2 separate regions of the Homo sapiens genome follow, and region 2 is linked to region 1. Evidence: promoter capture Hi-C in 16 types of primary human blood cells and fetal thymus (Javierre and others, 2016). All regions are on one chromosome and are shown on one strand. The core of a region is centred on a gene start or on the middle of the fragment in contact, and the rest is flanking DNA. Distances in the headings are between cores, read along the strand shown. Region 1 holds the start of PRRC2B (proline rich coiled-coil 2B). Region 2 overlaps NUP214 (nucleoporin 214).

Region 1 (6,915 bases), core at 305-2,804:
AGGACTTGACAGCAGTTATACCAACAACCGTAGGAGGAACCACTAACTGTGCCAGGCCCTCTGCTAGGCCCTTCACCGCTGCCCAAACCTGCCAGGTGGAGGGTGCACGCCCCGATTTATGCAGATGAAGCCTCAGACAGCCCCAGAGTCACTAGGTTTACGGAAGAAAGAAGCAGGATCTGCACCCCAATGCCTGGGCCTCCCCAGTCCCACCTTACACCACAGCGCTGTGCATAGACATGACTAAATGGCTGCAGCGAGATTCGGAAAAACCATGCTAAGACCGCACACAATTGGTTACAAAAACCAAACTGGATGACACTGTACAAAGCCACATCAAATGCACACTAAACCTTAAAGAAAAAAAAAATCTTAGGGAAAGTTTAACAGTCCTGTAAACCAAAGGCATTTAAAGATTTCTCCCAGGAAGCCATTTAGCAAAAGACACTCCCCAGCCCCCCTTCTCCCACTTCCTTCAAGCTCACCACTGAAAACACCTCCAATTCTTGCCTAAAGGTGGGCTCCGACCTCCCACGATATTTAGAAGGAGGAAAAAAGAAAAAGGAAAAAAATCCACCTCTTAAGGCAAATCCACTCTTCAGAGGCCCACAGTTTCAACAGGGCTGAATTTCTCTCCTGGGGGTTGAGGGGAGGCAAAAGAGGAGGAAAAAAAAAAAAACCCCATCTGGCAGGCCCCGAGTGGCGACATCCTGTTTATTATTAAACATTTTTAGCATGGAGCATTCAGCATTTCGAAAATAACCCTCTGGTTCCCGCACTCACACCGAGACTGGGCGGCCGCTCGCCTCCCTCCCCCAGCCGCCAACTTTAGCGCCGCCGGGGCCCGGCCCACCCCGCGCCAGGAACGGCCCCGCGAACGCCGCTCAGCGCCCCGGACCCAAGGCCCGACCCCGCAGGATCCCGCCTCGGGCGCGCTGCTCCGTCAATTGGGCGGGGCGGGGAGCAAAGACGCCGGCCCCAGAACCCCGAGACCCGGCTGCGGGCCCGGGACCCCCGCCCCTCCGGCCTCTGCAGCCCGGCCCGGCCTCGGGGGTACGGGGGTGGCGGGCGAGCCCTGAGGGAGTCGCGCGGCCCCTGGACCCCGCCCGAGCCTGAGGCCGCGCGGCGCCGCCACAACAATGGCGAGCGCGCCCGGGCCCGCCGCCCCCAGGCCCCGCGGCCTCCCAGCCCCGCAGCCCCGCGCCCGGCGGGAAGGAGGCGGCGGCGGCCGCGCTCGCGGACAAAGGTCGGGCAGGGCCGCAGGGCCCCCGGGCCCCCGGCGGCGGCCGCGGGAGACAAAGCCCGGCCGGGCCGCGCCGCCTCCATCTTAGCGCCGCCGCCCCCACGCCCCGGCCCCGGCCCCGGCCCCGACCCACCTGGTCTGGTTCCGCGGGCGCGGCCGGGCCGGGCGATGGCAGTCGGGCGGCGGTCGGGCACGGGGGCGGCGGGATGGCGGCGGATTGCGAGGCGGCGGCGCGGGCTGCTCGCTCGCTCGCTCCCTCCCTCCTCCCGGGCTCGCTCGTCGCTGCGCGGTGGAGCCTCGGCGCCTGTCTCGCCGCTCGCTCCCTCGCGCTCGGCTCCCCGCCCCCCGCCTGCCGCCGCCCCCGCCTCCTCGTCCTCCTCCTCCCGCCGCCGCCCGCAACCTGGGCCCGCGCAGCGCCCCCTGCCGCGCCTCCCGGGAGCGGCGGCCTTGGGATCGGCCCGGGGGCCGGGCGAGGGCTGGGGCCAGGGGGGAGGGGCGGGGAGCGGCGGGAGGGGGCTGGGAGGGGGCTGGGAGTGGGGAGGGGCCCGGGGACGGCGGGAGAGGCGGGAGAGAACGGGGCAGAGCGGGGATCGGGGAGGAGACCCGGAGGAGGGGCCAGGAGCCAAGAGAAGGGGCCTGGGAAGGGCATGGGCCCGGCCTGGGCCCGGGGGAAGGGCGCCCGGAAAGAGGGGGAAGGGATGGAGGGGGCAGTGACGGGGGAGCGAGCCCGGATCTCCGCCCCCTCCCCCTTCAAAACTGCAGCGCCTCAGAACAGACTAAGCCCGGATTTTGTTAAAATATGTATACGGTATATGAACGGAAAGGAAGCAGAAATAATACTTTTTTCATTTCAAAAGCAAGGTTGTTGCACAATATGGGTACTTTGTCCCATTTTTACAAAATGAAAACTAATAAGCCCCTCCTCTTGAGTGTTGTGTGTTTGTGTGATTGCAAAACAAAAGGTCCGGGAGACTGCACTCCTGTCTTGGTTACCTCCGTGGTTTGAGGTTGGGAGAGCGGAGGAGGGTTCTTACTTTTTTAGACACCTAACCAACTATAAAAGCAATTTCAAAAAGCAAATACAAAAAAAAAATGTTAGGGCCTGGCACCCAAATCATCCCACCCTCTTCCAGTCACGGTTGCTCTAAGCACCAGCTGCGGGCCATGCCCTATGCTAAAGCACGTGGTTTGTCTCACTTAATCCTAACCCAGGGGCAGATATTATTGTTCTAATTCACAGGTGAGACAAAGGAGGCTTTGAGAGAATGTGCCCCAGGCCACACTGCTGGACCCAGAAGGAAAATTAACCCACTTCAGCCTAACTCCAGAACTGAGGCTGGTGAACAAAGCTTAGTTTTTGGGGAGTAGAATTCTGGATACTTTTATAGCCTTATTTATAATTCTCTGAATTTTCCTACATTTTATCCATGGTCATTTTCAGTGTTATCCTTTTTTTCTTTTTTCTTTTTTTTTTTTTTTGAGACAGTCTCGCTCTGTCCCCCAGGCTGGAGTGCAGTGGCACAATCCGCAATCTCTGCTCACTGCAACCTCCAACTCCTAGATTCAAGCGATTCTCCTGCCCCAGCCTCCTGAGTAGCTGGGATTACAGACATCTGCCACCATGCCCAGCTAATTTTTGTATTTTTGGTAGAGATGGGATTTCACCATGTTGGCCAAGTTGGTCTGGAACTCCTGCGCTAAAGTGATCCACCTACCTTGGCCTCCCAAAGTGTTGGGATTACAGTGCCGGCCACTCTGTTTTACATCATCAAATCTGCATTATTCCCCTGCCAATGTCTTCAATATTTCGCTATCTCTACAAAACAGGGAGGATGTAACCCTAATTTTTGTTTTCGATTTTGTTCCTTGACCATCTTCAGGAAGGCCATAGAATTGGCCCAGTGCTCAAAACCCAGCAACTAATAAAAATGATAGAAGGCAAATAAACAAATAAAAAATAAATTAAATAAATAAACTGAGCCTCAGGTTCTTCATCTGTAAGGCTGGCGCAGTGGCTAACACCTGTAATCCCACCACTTTGGTAGGTCGAGGCAGGTGGATCATGCGGTCAGGAGTTCAAGACCAGCCTGACCAATATGGTGAAACCCCATCTCTACTAAAAATACAAAAATTAGCCAGGCATGGTGGCAGTCGCCTGTAATCCCAGCTACTTGGGAGGCTGAGGCAGAAGAATTGCTCAAACCCGGGTGGCGGAGGTTGCACTGAGCCGAGATCATGCCACTGCACTCCAGCCTGGGTGACAGAGTGAGACTCCATCTCAAAAAAAAAAAAAGAAAGAAAATAAACAAGCAAAAAAGAAATAAACTATCTGAAGCCTCAGATTCTTTATTTGTAAGGCCAAGCGTGGTGGCTCACCCCTGTAATCCCACCACTTTGGGAGGCCGAGGCAGGCAGATCACCTGAGGTCAGGAGTTTGAGACCAGTCTGGCCAACATGGTGAAACCCCGTCTCTACTAAAAATACAAAAATTAGCCGGGCATGGTGGTGGGGTCCTGTAATCCCAGCTACTCGGGAGGCTGAGGCACAAGAATCACTTGAACCCAGGAGGTGGAGGTTGCAGTGAGCCAAGAGCACGCCACTTCACTCCAGCCTGGGCAACAGAGAGAGACTCTGTCTCAAAACAAAATGATAGGAGGAGGCTGAACAGTAACAGGGTGGTTTACTGAGCACTTACTATGTGACAGCCACTGTGCTAAACACTCCCTATAGAGTCACTCAGGTAATCCTCACGACATACCCATAAAACAGACACTAGTGTGCCCATCCAACAGAGAAGAAAAGTAGACTTTGTGGAGGCAATACAATGCCCCCCACCAAAGATGTCCAAGTCCTGATCCCTGAAATCTGTGAAAATGGTACCTTCTCTGGCAAAAGGGATTCTGTAGATGGGATGAAGTTAAGGATCTTGAGATGCAGAGATGAATCCTGGATTATTTGGTTGGGCAGGTGGAATCACAAGGGTCCTCACAAGAGGAAGGAAGGAGGGTCGGAGTCGGAGAAGATGTGGTTGATGAAGCGGAGTTCATCATATTGACTGACAAAGGAATGACGCAGGACCTCACGCCCAGAAATGCAGGCTGCCTCTAGAAGCTACAAAGGACAAGGAATGGATTCTCCCCTAAAGCCTCCAGAAGAAAATGAGCCCTGCCAACCACCGTGACCTCCAGAACTTTAAGATAACAAAGTTACATAAGCCACTAAATGTGTGGTAATGTAGCAATAGAAAACTAGTACAACCTTGGAGACTTGCTGAAGGCAACACAGCGAGGGAAGGGTTAAAAGGCAAGCTAGGGCCAGACACAGTGGCTCAAGCCTGTAATCCCAGGACTTTGGGAGGCTGAGGTGGGCAGATCACTTGGTCAGGCGTTCGAGACCAGCCTGACCAACATGGTGAAACCCTGTCTCTACTAAAAATACAAAAATTAGCCAGGCCTGGTGGTATGTGCCTGTAATCCCAGCTACTCAAGAAGCTGAGGCAGGAGAACTGCTTGAACCTGGGAGGTGGAGGTTGCAGTGAGCCGAGATTGCACCATTGCACTATAGCCTGGGCGACAGAGCGAGACTCTGTATCAAAAAAAAAAAAAAAAAAAAAAAGCTAGGGCACAGTGGCTCACGCCTGTAATCCCAGCACTTTGGGAGGCCGAGGCAGGTGGGTCACGAGGTCAAGAGATCGAGACCATCCTGGCTAACATGGTGAAACCCCATCTCTACTAAAAATACAAAAAATTAGCCAGGCGTGGTGGCGGGCGCCTATAGTCCCAGCTACTCGGGAGGCTGAGGCAGGACAATGGCATGAACCTGGGAGGCAGAGCTTGCACTGAGCTGAGATCACACCACTGCACTCCAGCCTGGGCGACAGAGCAAGACTCTGTCTCAAAAAAAAAAAAAAAAAAAAAAAAGGCAAGCTAGGAGTCTTGGGAGAGAAGAGACCTGGCTTCAAATCCAGCTCAGCCATCTCCTACCTCCCTGACCATCCTCATGGAGAGAATGGCATGCAGTCATCCATCCCTGCAAAGTGCTTAGCCCAGAGGAGAGCCCTGGGAATCAAAGTTCGTCCGTTCATTCACTGGGCACCTGCACTCTGGTGCTCACTGTGCCAGGCTCTGGGGCCATGCTGTTGAACTGGGCAGAGAAGGGCCACTACAGTCAATAAAACAAACACAGGCCAGACGCAGTGGCTCACGCCTGTAATCCCAGCACTTTGGGAAGCCAAGGCGGGAGGACCACGAGGTCAGGAGATCAAGACCATCCTGGCCAACACGGTGAAACCCTGTCTCTACCAAAAATACAAAAACTAGCCAGGCGTGGTGGCGGGCACCTGTAATCGCTCGGGAGGCTGAGGCAGGAGAATCGCTTGAACCCAAGAGTTGGAGGTTGCAGTGAGCCAAGATCGCCACTGCACTCCAGCTTGGCGACAAAACAGGACTCCATCTCAAAAAAAAAAAAAACAAAAAAAAAAACAACCATGTTCCGAGGTTTTAGTTCTGGTTCTGTCTCCAACCAGCAGAGCTAGCCTTTTGGTGCCTAAGAGTTTCTACCTGCGAAAATTGGGTGGGGAGCACTGTGGTGTCTCTCCAGCTGGGATCCCCAAGCAGAGAAGAGAGCTTGGCACAAAGTAAGCACTCAATCTCCATGGTGGTTGAAAAGTGGATGCCTGGACAACTGAGGCCAAAATCATGGCTCCTGACCAACCACACAAAACACACGGCTCACAAAACCAGCCAAATAAGCACATGCACTAAAGCCTCCAAACCTCAGCAAGCCTGGAGGTGGGTGCCCAGCCTCCCTTCCCCTACTGTCACCACTATGGGGACAAAGCATCCAGCAAGGTGTCAGAGGAAGAAAACATACCTGGTGTTTTGAATACCTGCACTTAACAGTCGAGAAAATAGAGCATCAGAAAGTTCAGTGACTTGCCCAGCCAGGCACAGTGGCTCATGCATGTGATCCTAGCACTTTGGGAGGCCAAGGTGGGCGGATTGCCTGAGGTTGGGAGTGTGAGACCAGCCTGACCAACATGGAGAAACCCCATCTCTACTAAAAATACAAAAACTGAGCCAGGCATGGTGGCGCATGCCTGTAATCCCAGTTACTTGGGAGGCTGAGGCAGGAGAATCGCTTGATTCACCAGGGAAGCGGAGGTTGTGGTAAGCCGTGATCCCAGCACTGCATTCCCGCTTGGGCAACAAGAGCGAAACTCTGTCTCAAAAAAAAAAAAAAAAAAAATTGAAAGGAGCCAGGCGCAGTGGCTCACACCTGTAATCCCAGCACTTTGGGAGGCCAAGGTGGGTGGATTGCCTGAGCTCAGGAGTTCGAGACCAGCCTGGGCAACATGGTGAAACCCCCATCTCTACTAAAATACAAAAAATTTGCCAGGAGTGGCGGCATGCACTTGTAGTCCCAGCTACTTGGAAGGACGAGGCAGGAGAATTGGTTGAATCCGGGAGGGGGAGGTTGCAGTGAGCCAAGATCATGCCACTGCACTCCAGCCTGGGCAACGGAGCGAGACTCCGTCTCAAAAAAAAAAAAAAAAAAGGTAAAAGGAGGGGCCAGGTGCGGTAATCCCAGCACTTTGGAAGTCCAAGGAGGGCGGATCACGAGGTCAAGAGATCGAGACCATCCTGGCCAACATGGTGAAACCCTGTCTCTAT
Region 2 (6,778 bases), core at 3,980-6,479, 220 kb after region 1:
AGAGTCTAATTCTGTGGAGAATGGAACAGAAAGTTTCTTCAAGATTTCTTAAGTTGTCTGAGATTTTTTGTCAGAAAGAGTAGACTCAAAATTACTCCTTGAACAAACCCTTCATCAAAGATCAGCTCAGATGAACCATTTAGGGAAATGAAGCTTGAGAAAAGGAGAAGTGGAATCTCCAAAAGGTGCTTCTCATACATGGTTAGCACCTAATATATCTCAGAAACACTAGACAATACTTCCTGTACCATATGCTGAGTTTTCCCATCTTATGTAACATTCTGCCTTGCCTTCCCTATGCTGGGAATCTGGCTACAATTCCCAAACTCTAATGCATAGTTCTTTCCCTTGAAAAGCTTGCAACAACCACAAATACCATCTTGGTCTAAACAGCATACCAAGGCTCCGAGGTCACTACAAAATAGTAATAGAGAAGGCTTGTTTTTTGGCTGTTAGTATGGCCCTGAGATAACTAAAAATTCCTCAAACAAGCAGTGTTGATAAACAGAACAACATGGAAAAAAAGAGGCCAGCGGACCAGTGAGGCAGGGCCACTTGAGAGAGGGAAAACAGAACCGTGGGCAGATCTGCTCTGTGCAATGGCAGAGGGTGGGCACGCTGTGGAGAACCACAAGGTCTATGGCTGCCCTTCTTGCTGCTAGACTAATCATGGGTACCAGACACTAACTCCCTGAAATCTGATACTAGTCCTCAAGATCCCCATGTTCCAAGTGAGGAAATGTCCCTCAACTCTTCCCTTTGCCACAGGGGATGGTGGTTGGTCTAAAGGGATCACAGTCACAAAATATGCAGGGCAAAGCAGGGCACAGGCATGTTCTGCGAACCTGCCCAGGGCAGCGGGAGGGAGTCAGCACCCTGAATTCCGAACACAGATGAGGACTAAAGACAAATGAGCTAGGCTGGGCACAGTGGCTCCTGCCTATAATCACAGCACTTTGTGAGGATGAGGTGAGAGGATCACTTGAGCCCAGAAATTTGAGACCAGCCTGGGGTGACATGGCAAAAACTCCATCTCTACAAAAAATTAAAAAATTAGCTGGGTGTGGTGTCATGTGCCTGTAGTCCCAGCAGCTACTTGGGAGGCAGATATGGGAGCATGGCTTGGGCCCAGAAGGTTAAGGCTACAGTGTGCCATGATCGTACTGCACTCTGCACTCCAGTCTGGGCAAGAGTGAGACCTTGTCTAAGAAAAAACAAAAAACAAAAAACAACAACAACAACAACAACAAAACCACCACCACCACCAAAAAAACAAGTGAGCTCCACCAGCAACAATCCAGCCCTCAAACATGGCATGGCAGAGAAGCTAAAGTCTCCAAACAGAGGTGCTGTCTTTTATACAAAAGCAAAAGAAATGGGAAGAACAGAAATGCCTGGAGAAGGGAAGTGAGGGAGGAGAGTGTCACCCTTGAGATTACAGTTTCCAGAATCAAGTCTGCATGAGACCCAAAGCATCAACTCTGGAACCCCTAGGGCATTAAAAAAAAAAAAAAAATCAACCTGCACACCTAATGTGTACCACACAGAGACTTACACATGGCAAACAGAAACTGAGCATACAGCATCAAGACAAACTTTAAAAGTTTGTGAGGCAACTGTCACCGGCCAGTTAAAAAGGACAGTCTCCTGAAAATGCATTGTGTAGGCAGGCTTAGCCGCCACCCCCCTTATAACCTAAGGCGGTGCAGGAAAACCAGACTGTGACAGTGGCACTGCTGCTCCCTGCAGGCAGTCCACCGCTACTACAGAAGCAGCCAGGGGCTGAAACACACTGCAGTCAGAACATACCCCATGGCTGTAGAAGGGGTTGCAGGGTTATTCTTCAATTCCTGCACATTTACCACTTGAGGGACATTCTTCAACGTTGATTCAGTCAAAGTGTTTACAGCTAATTTAAACAGAGAAGAGAGAACACCATATTAATTCCAGCAAAGGATAAAAAGTTCTAGCCACATATAAATGAAAAACCAAGACATGAGCCCAAGCAGATTAGAGCCTTATCATGTGAAGGAAATCTACTCTAGGTAGTTCTTGCAGCATTGTGTTCAAAGGAACACCTGGCCTACTCCATTAACACAGGTGATGGAACAAGGCTTCCTGTAACTGAATCGAATGTACTAGAGTAGGGGAAAAGAATTCTCTGGCCAGCTTTTCTACACAGAGCTGAGACACCTGCCACACTGCTGGTCTGTCCTGGAAAAGGGCAGCTTGAGCTAGAGGATTAACAGCATCTAGACTCAGGATTTCTGCCACTCATTCACTGTCTTTCTTTAACATGGGCTTATTATGTGCCAGGCTCTGTGTTAGGGGCTGCGAATACAAAATGTATCTATAGTTTCTTCTCTAAAGAAACTCATGGCCTAGTGAGACAGAAAGGCATAATGAATAAAATGTGGAAAATGGAGCTTGGACAATAATGGGAGAAGAGACTAAGAGGCATATATCTGACACCTCCTCATCAGCTTTCGTCTTATAATTGTAAATTGTATCCCAAAAGACTTAATGACATTCTATAATTAGCAATTAAGGAAGCCTGAGCAAAGCTTGTGGCTCATTACTAACTGCATCACTGGCCAAGGTGAAAGTGGTTATCACAAGCAGAATGACAGACCTGTAGTTAATTCTCTTTTATTCCCTCTTTCAAAGAAGTGACCAGAACATCTTGCCCACGACTGCACATCTTTCATATTTCATATTCAAAGGTGCCTATACCTTAGAAATTTTTGCATCCAACATGATAATACAGATCACACCACCTTCTGCTGAGTGGAACAATCCTCAATCCTAATAGATTTTAACGTTTTACAGATCATTGACTTGATCAACTTGATTTCAGGCCTGTTCAGCACAATGGCAAGATTCTACCTGGTCCAAGTAATATTTAAAGAGATCAAAGAATTCTATTTTTAGAAAGCCCAAAGGTACCTCAAAAGTTATCTTTGTTTTGTTCTTCAATATATATGTTAGATGTCTTAATAAAGGTTTTAATATTTGAATTTTTCTTTACAATCTTTTGACTTATCACTGTTTAATGTTAGTTCTTTTTTCCTAAATCAAACTATTATGTCTTTTTAGTCTTTAAAAAAAACTCTAAATTGATAAGTGTTGTAAGCAGTGATACATCTAAAAAATAATTTTACTCAGCTAAAATGAAAATATTTGGCTTATATCTGTTTCTTGACCCTGGCACTACTGACATTTTGGGGCTAGATAACCCTTTGTTGTGGGGGTGTCTTATGCATTTTAAAGATTTTTTTTTTGCAGCATTCCTGGCCTCTACCCACTAAATGCCAGCAACACTGCCAACTGTTTCAGGGGTGGAGGACAGGGAAGTGGGGGCAGCCTCTAGTTGAGAACTACTAGCTTATAAAACTGATAACTAGTGATAACTGAAGTCCTTGAGACCAACTACGCAGACTGTAAAATCCTAATGTACAATGTACATTAACGTAGAAAGTAGTAGAAAGTTTGGGATAATGACAAGCCACTGACGAAATGTTAAGTGCTAACTGACTTATTAGCGCTTCCTTCTGTAAAAGTTAAATTTTACAATGTTAAAAAAAAAGCTTTGGTCAGGAGCAGTGGCTCATGCCTATAATCCCAGCACTTTGGGAGGTAGAGGCGGGTGGATCACTTGAGCCCAGGAGTTTGAGACCAGCTTGGATAACATGGTGAAATCCTGTCTCTACAAAAATTTTTTAAATATTTGCCTGGTGTAGTGGTGCATGCCTGTAGTCCTAGCTATCCAGGAGGCTGAGGTGGGAAGGTCACCTGGGTTCGGGAGATCACGGAGGCTGCAGCGAGCCGTGATCGCACCAGTGTCCTTCAGCCTAGGCAACACAGTGAGACCCTGTCTCAAAAGAAAAAAAAAAAAAGCTTCATGCAAGATATAGTTGGAGAAGAAAAAATGCTCAACTGAAAAAGAGCAGAGGGTTAGAGTCTGGGTTCTGCTACTTATTGGTGGGATAACCTTCACCTCTCTGAACTTCAGATTACTCAAACACAAAATGGTCATTCTTTTTGTTTGTTTGTGTTTGTTTTGTTTTAGAGATGAGGTCTCACTATGTTGCCTAGGGTGGTCTCAAACTCCTGGCCTCAAGTGATCCTCCCACCTCAGCCTCCCAAAGTGCTGGGATTACAGGCATGAGTCACTATGCCCAGCCAAAATAGCCATTCAAATACCTACCTCTTGGGGTAGCTGCAATCTGTAAGATACTAAGAGATGACGCTAGTGTTATTCGATGATCGAATTTCAAAGGTTATAATTTTAGGGCTCTAAGCAGACATTATTCAAAAGTAGGATTAGCAATTTTGTTTAAAAAAAAAAACAAACCCCACTGATTTCCACCTTAACTAAATGTGGCAGTTCTAATCCCTCCCCTTAAAAGCAAAGATTTTCAGACCTAGTCTCTGCTTTCTTAGAACTCTCTCCACAAAGGGGAGAGGGCTGTCACATCAATCTTCTCTTCTGAAGGGCACCAAAGAGCGCCCACTGTTTCTTGCCACCTGCTGTCCTGGCCTGTGACTCAGACAGCTCATAATCAGCCTCTGTACAGGTATGGGGCTACAGCTTTTACCTGGTGCCTGACTGGCCATCTGCCGCCTGAGTGCTGCTGCGGCAGCTGCCTGCGGGGCTGAGATGGGGTGGGAAGGACTAGGTGCACCATGTTTCACGGTTTTCGTGGCAAGCATTGTGCTATCGGCCCCTTGAGGAATAATTTTGCTAGCAGATGTAGCCACTAAGAGGAAAAGAAAAATTAAGTGTGAGTGGGTGAGAGAACAGGAAAATACAAAAGGTTAAATTGGTAAATTCTTTATGTTCGACTGCAGGGAAAATGCTAAAATTAGCGTTAACATAGAAAAGTACCAGTAAACTAACAGGCTGGCATCTATATCTTTCAGTTATCGCATGAAATTTGCCTACCCACCTCTACTAAGATACATCATCATTTCCTGATACTGATTGAGATACAACTTTTATACCAACATAGACCAATTCCCTGATCCCCTCTCACAAATTCTCTTCATTCTAGTACCTAACACTGGTATTTTTCTCTGCTGGAAGTCACTTTGATGCAAAGCCCTGACACTGTACTGAAAGTGTGGGGGCACAACACCTGTCAGTACAGTGAGCCAATACTGACCACAAGCATCAGAGCTGGTGAGTTCTGAGGCAGAATATGCCACAAGTCAGGCTGAAATGAGCCAGGATTTAAAAGATATGAGTGTGGATGTTGCTTTATAACTGAAGCAAACAGCCCCCTTTTACTTCTGAAAAAGATCTGTTTTAAAAAACAAGCTGGCTCAGCAGAAAAACTGTTATAGCGCATAAACTTGGAGAGCCATCTCCTTCCTCACAATGGCCTAGCAACTGCTTTCAAGGGGAACACACATCTTTTCAATCAGTCTTCTAATTTCTAGAATATAAGCAGAAGTGAGTTGAGCAGCCAGGTGCAGTGGCTCATGCCTGTAATCCTACCACTCTGGGAGGCCAAGGCAGGTGGATCACCTGAGGTCAGGAGTTTGAGACCAGCCTGGCCAACACAACATGGTGAAACCCCGTCTCCACTAAAAATACAAAAATTAGCCAGGCGTGGTGGTGCACGCCTGTAATCCCAGCTACTTGGGAGGGTGAGGCAGGAGAATCATTTGAACCCAGGAGGTGGATGTTGCAGTGAGCCTAGATCGCGCCATTACACTCCAGCCTGGGCAACAGAGTGAGACTCCACCTCAAAAAAAAAAAGAAAAAAAGAAAAAAAAAAAAAAGTGGGCTGGAGCCAACCACCATATTGGTGTGACAGTATAAGACCCAGTTACAATTCCGTCATTAGTTAGAAACATCATAGGGAAAAACAGTTTCCTTTCCCACTGTTTACTTACCTGAAGTTCCCATCACACCAGGTGAAGAACCATGAACCAGGTGAGATTTAGCAAAAGGTGCTGCATGGGGCAAGAGACTGGGCTGGATGGAAGGAGTGCGAACCACGGGGGCGTGCCGAGGGGCCTGAACCACTGCCTCGTCATCTTTACAGGACGTCCGTGCATCTTCACTCTCCAGAGACTGGGAGACAGATGACGTTGAGCTGACTTCATCCAAGTCTTCATAATATCTCTGAGACAGAAAGGCTGATCGAGACAGGCTGGCTACAAAAGCCCCAAACAAAACACAATTTAGACAACTCAAAGCAAGCCCAAAAGCTAAGTAATTTTCACTGTTGATAAAAAAAAAAAATACTCAACTTGTAAAATGATTTAATTATTACTTATTTTAAGTGGGAGCAGGTATTGTCAAATGTGAACAAAAATGGTTTTGGGTCTTTGCTCAGATGGGGATTTGAGAAACTGAGGTGTGTGAACGAGAACATCTTGGGGCTGTTAAAAGAATGTGAAAAAGTAAGAGACAGAATTAATGCTGGTGTCAAAGTAGAAGCCTGGAGCCCTCACTAGTATAATAATAATATACTAGAAATGTAACAGGCAAGTTTCCATGGTGGGGTGAACAATCACACCATTACTGTCACCTTCCAATGATAAGCTTCTAAGAACAGGTCCAACGCAAAATGGATTAGAAAGAATGTCCTCGGTCCTGAGTGTCTCGAACATTTCCAGATAAATCTAATGATTCTTCTGATTCAGACAATTAGGTTTAAAAAAAAAAAATACAAGAGACTGGGTGCAGTGGGTCAGGCCTATAATCCCAGCACTTTGGGAGATTGAGGCAGGAGGACTGCTTGAAGCCAGGAGTTCAAGACCAGCT

What was found. Contacts are between HindIII fragments. The CHiCAGO score rates a contact against its expected background, and 5 or more counts as called.
Region 2: a contact is called between a fragment that was not itself captured here and the fragment with the promoter of PRRC2B in region 1, in 1 of 17 cell types (naive CD8 T cells). The highest score is 5.3, in naive CD8 T cells.

What each region holds. Positions count from the first base shown.
Region 1 is chr9:131,388,725-131,395,639 of GRCh38, reverse strand. It overlaps PRRC2B (proline rich coiled-coil 2B), which reads right to left and starts at 1,554. Exons shown (of 32, transcript NM_013318.4): 1 at 1,377-1,554. RefSeq lists enhancers at 293-1,054, 2,181-2,330 and silencers at 861-1,150, 1,381-1,490, 1,521-1,710. The HindIII fragment of the contact is 10,669 bases long and covers 1-2,594 here.
Region 2 is chr9:131,173,442-131,180,219 of GRCh38, reverse strand. It overlaps NUP214 (nucleoporin 214), which reads right to left. Exons shown (of 36, transcript NM_005085.4): 22 at 5,902-6,165; 23 at 4,599-4,760; 24 at 1,810-1,909. Among named protein-coding and RNA genes, the nearest start is that of NUP214, 51 kb to the right of the region's middle. The HindIII fragment of the contact is 2,659 bases long and covers 3,900-6,558 here.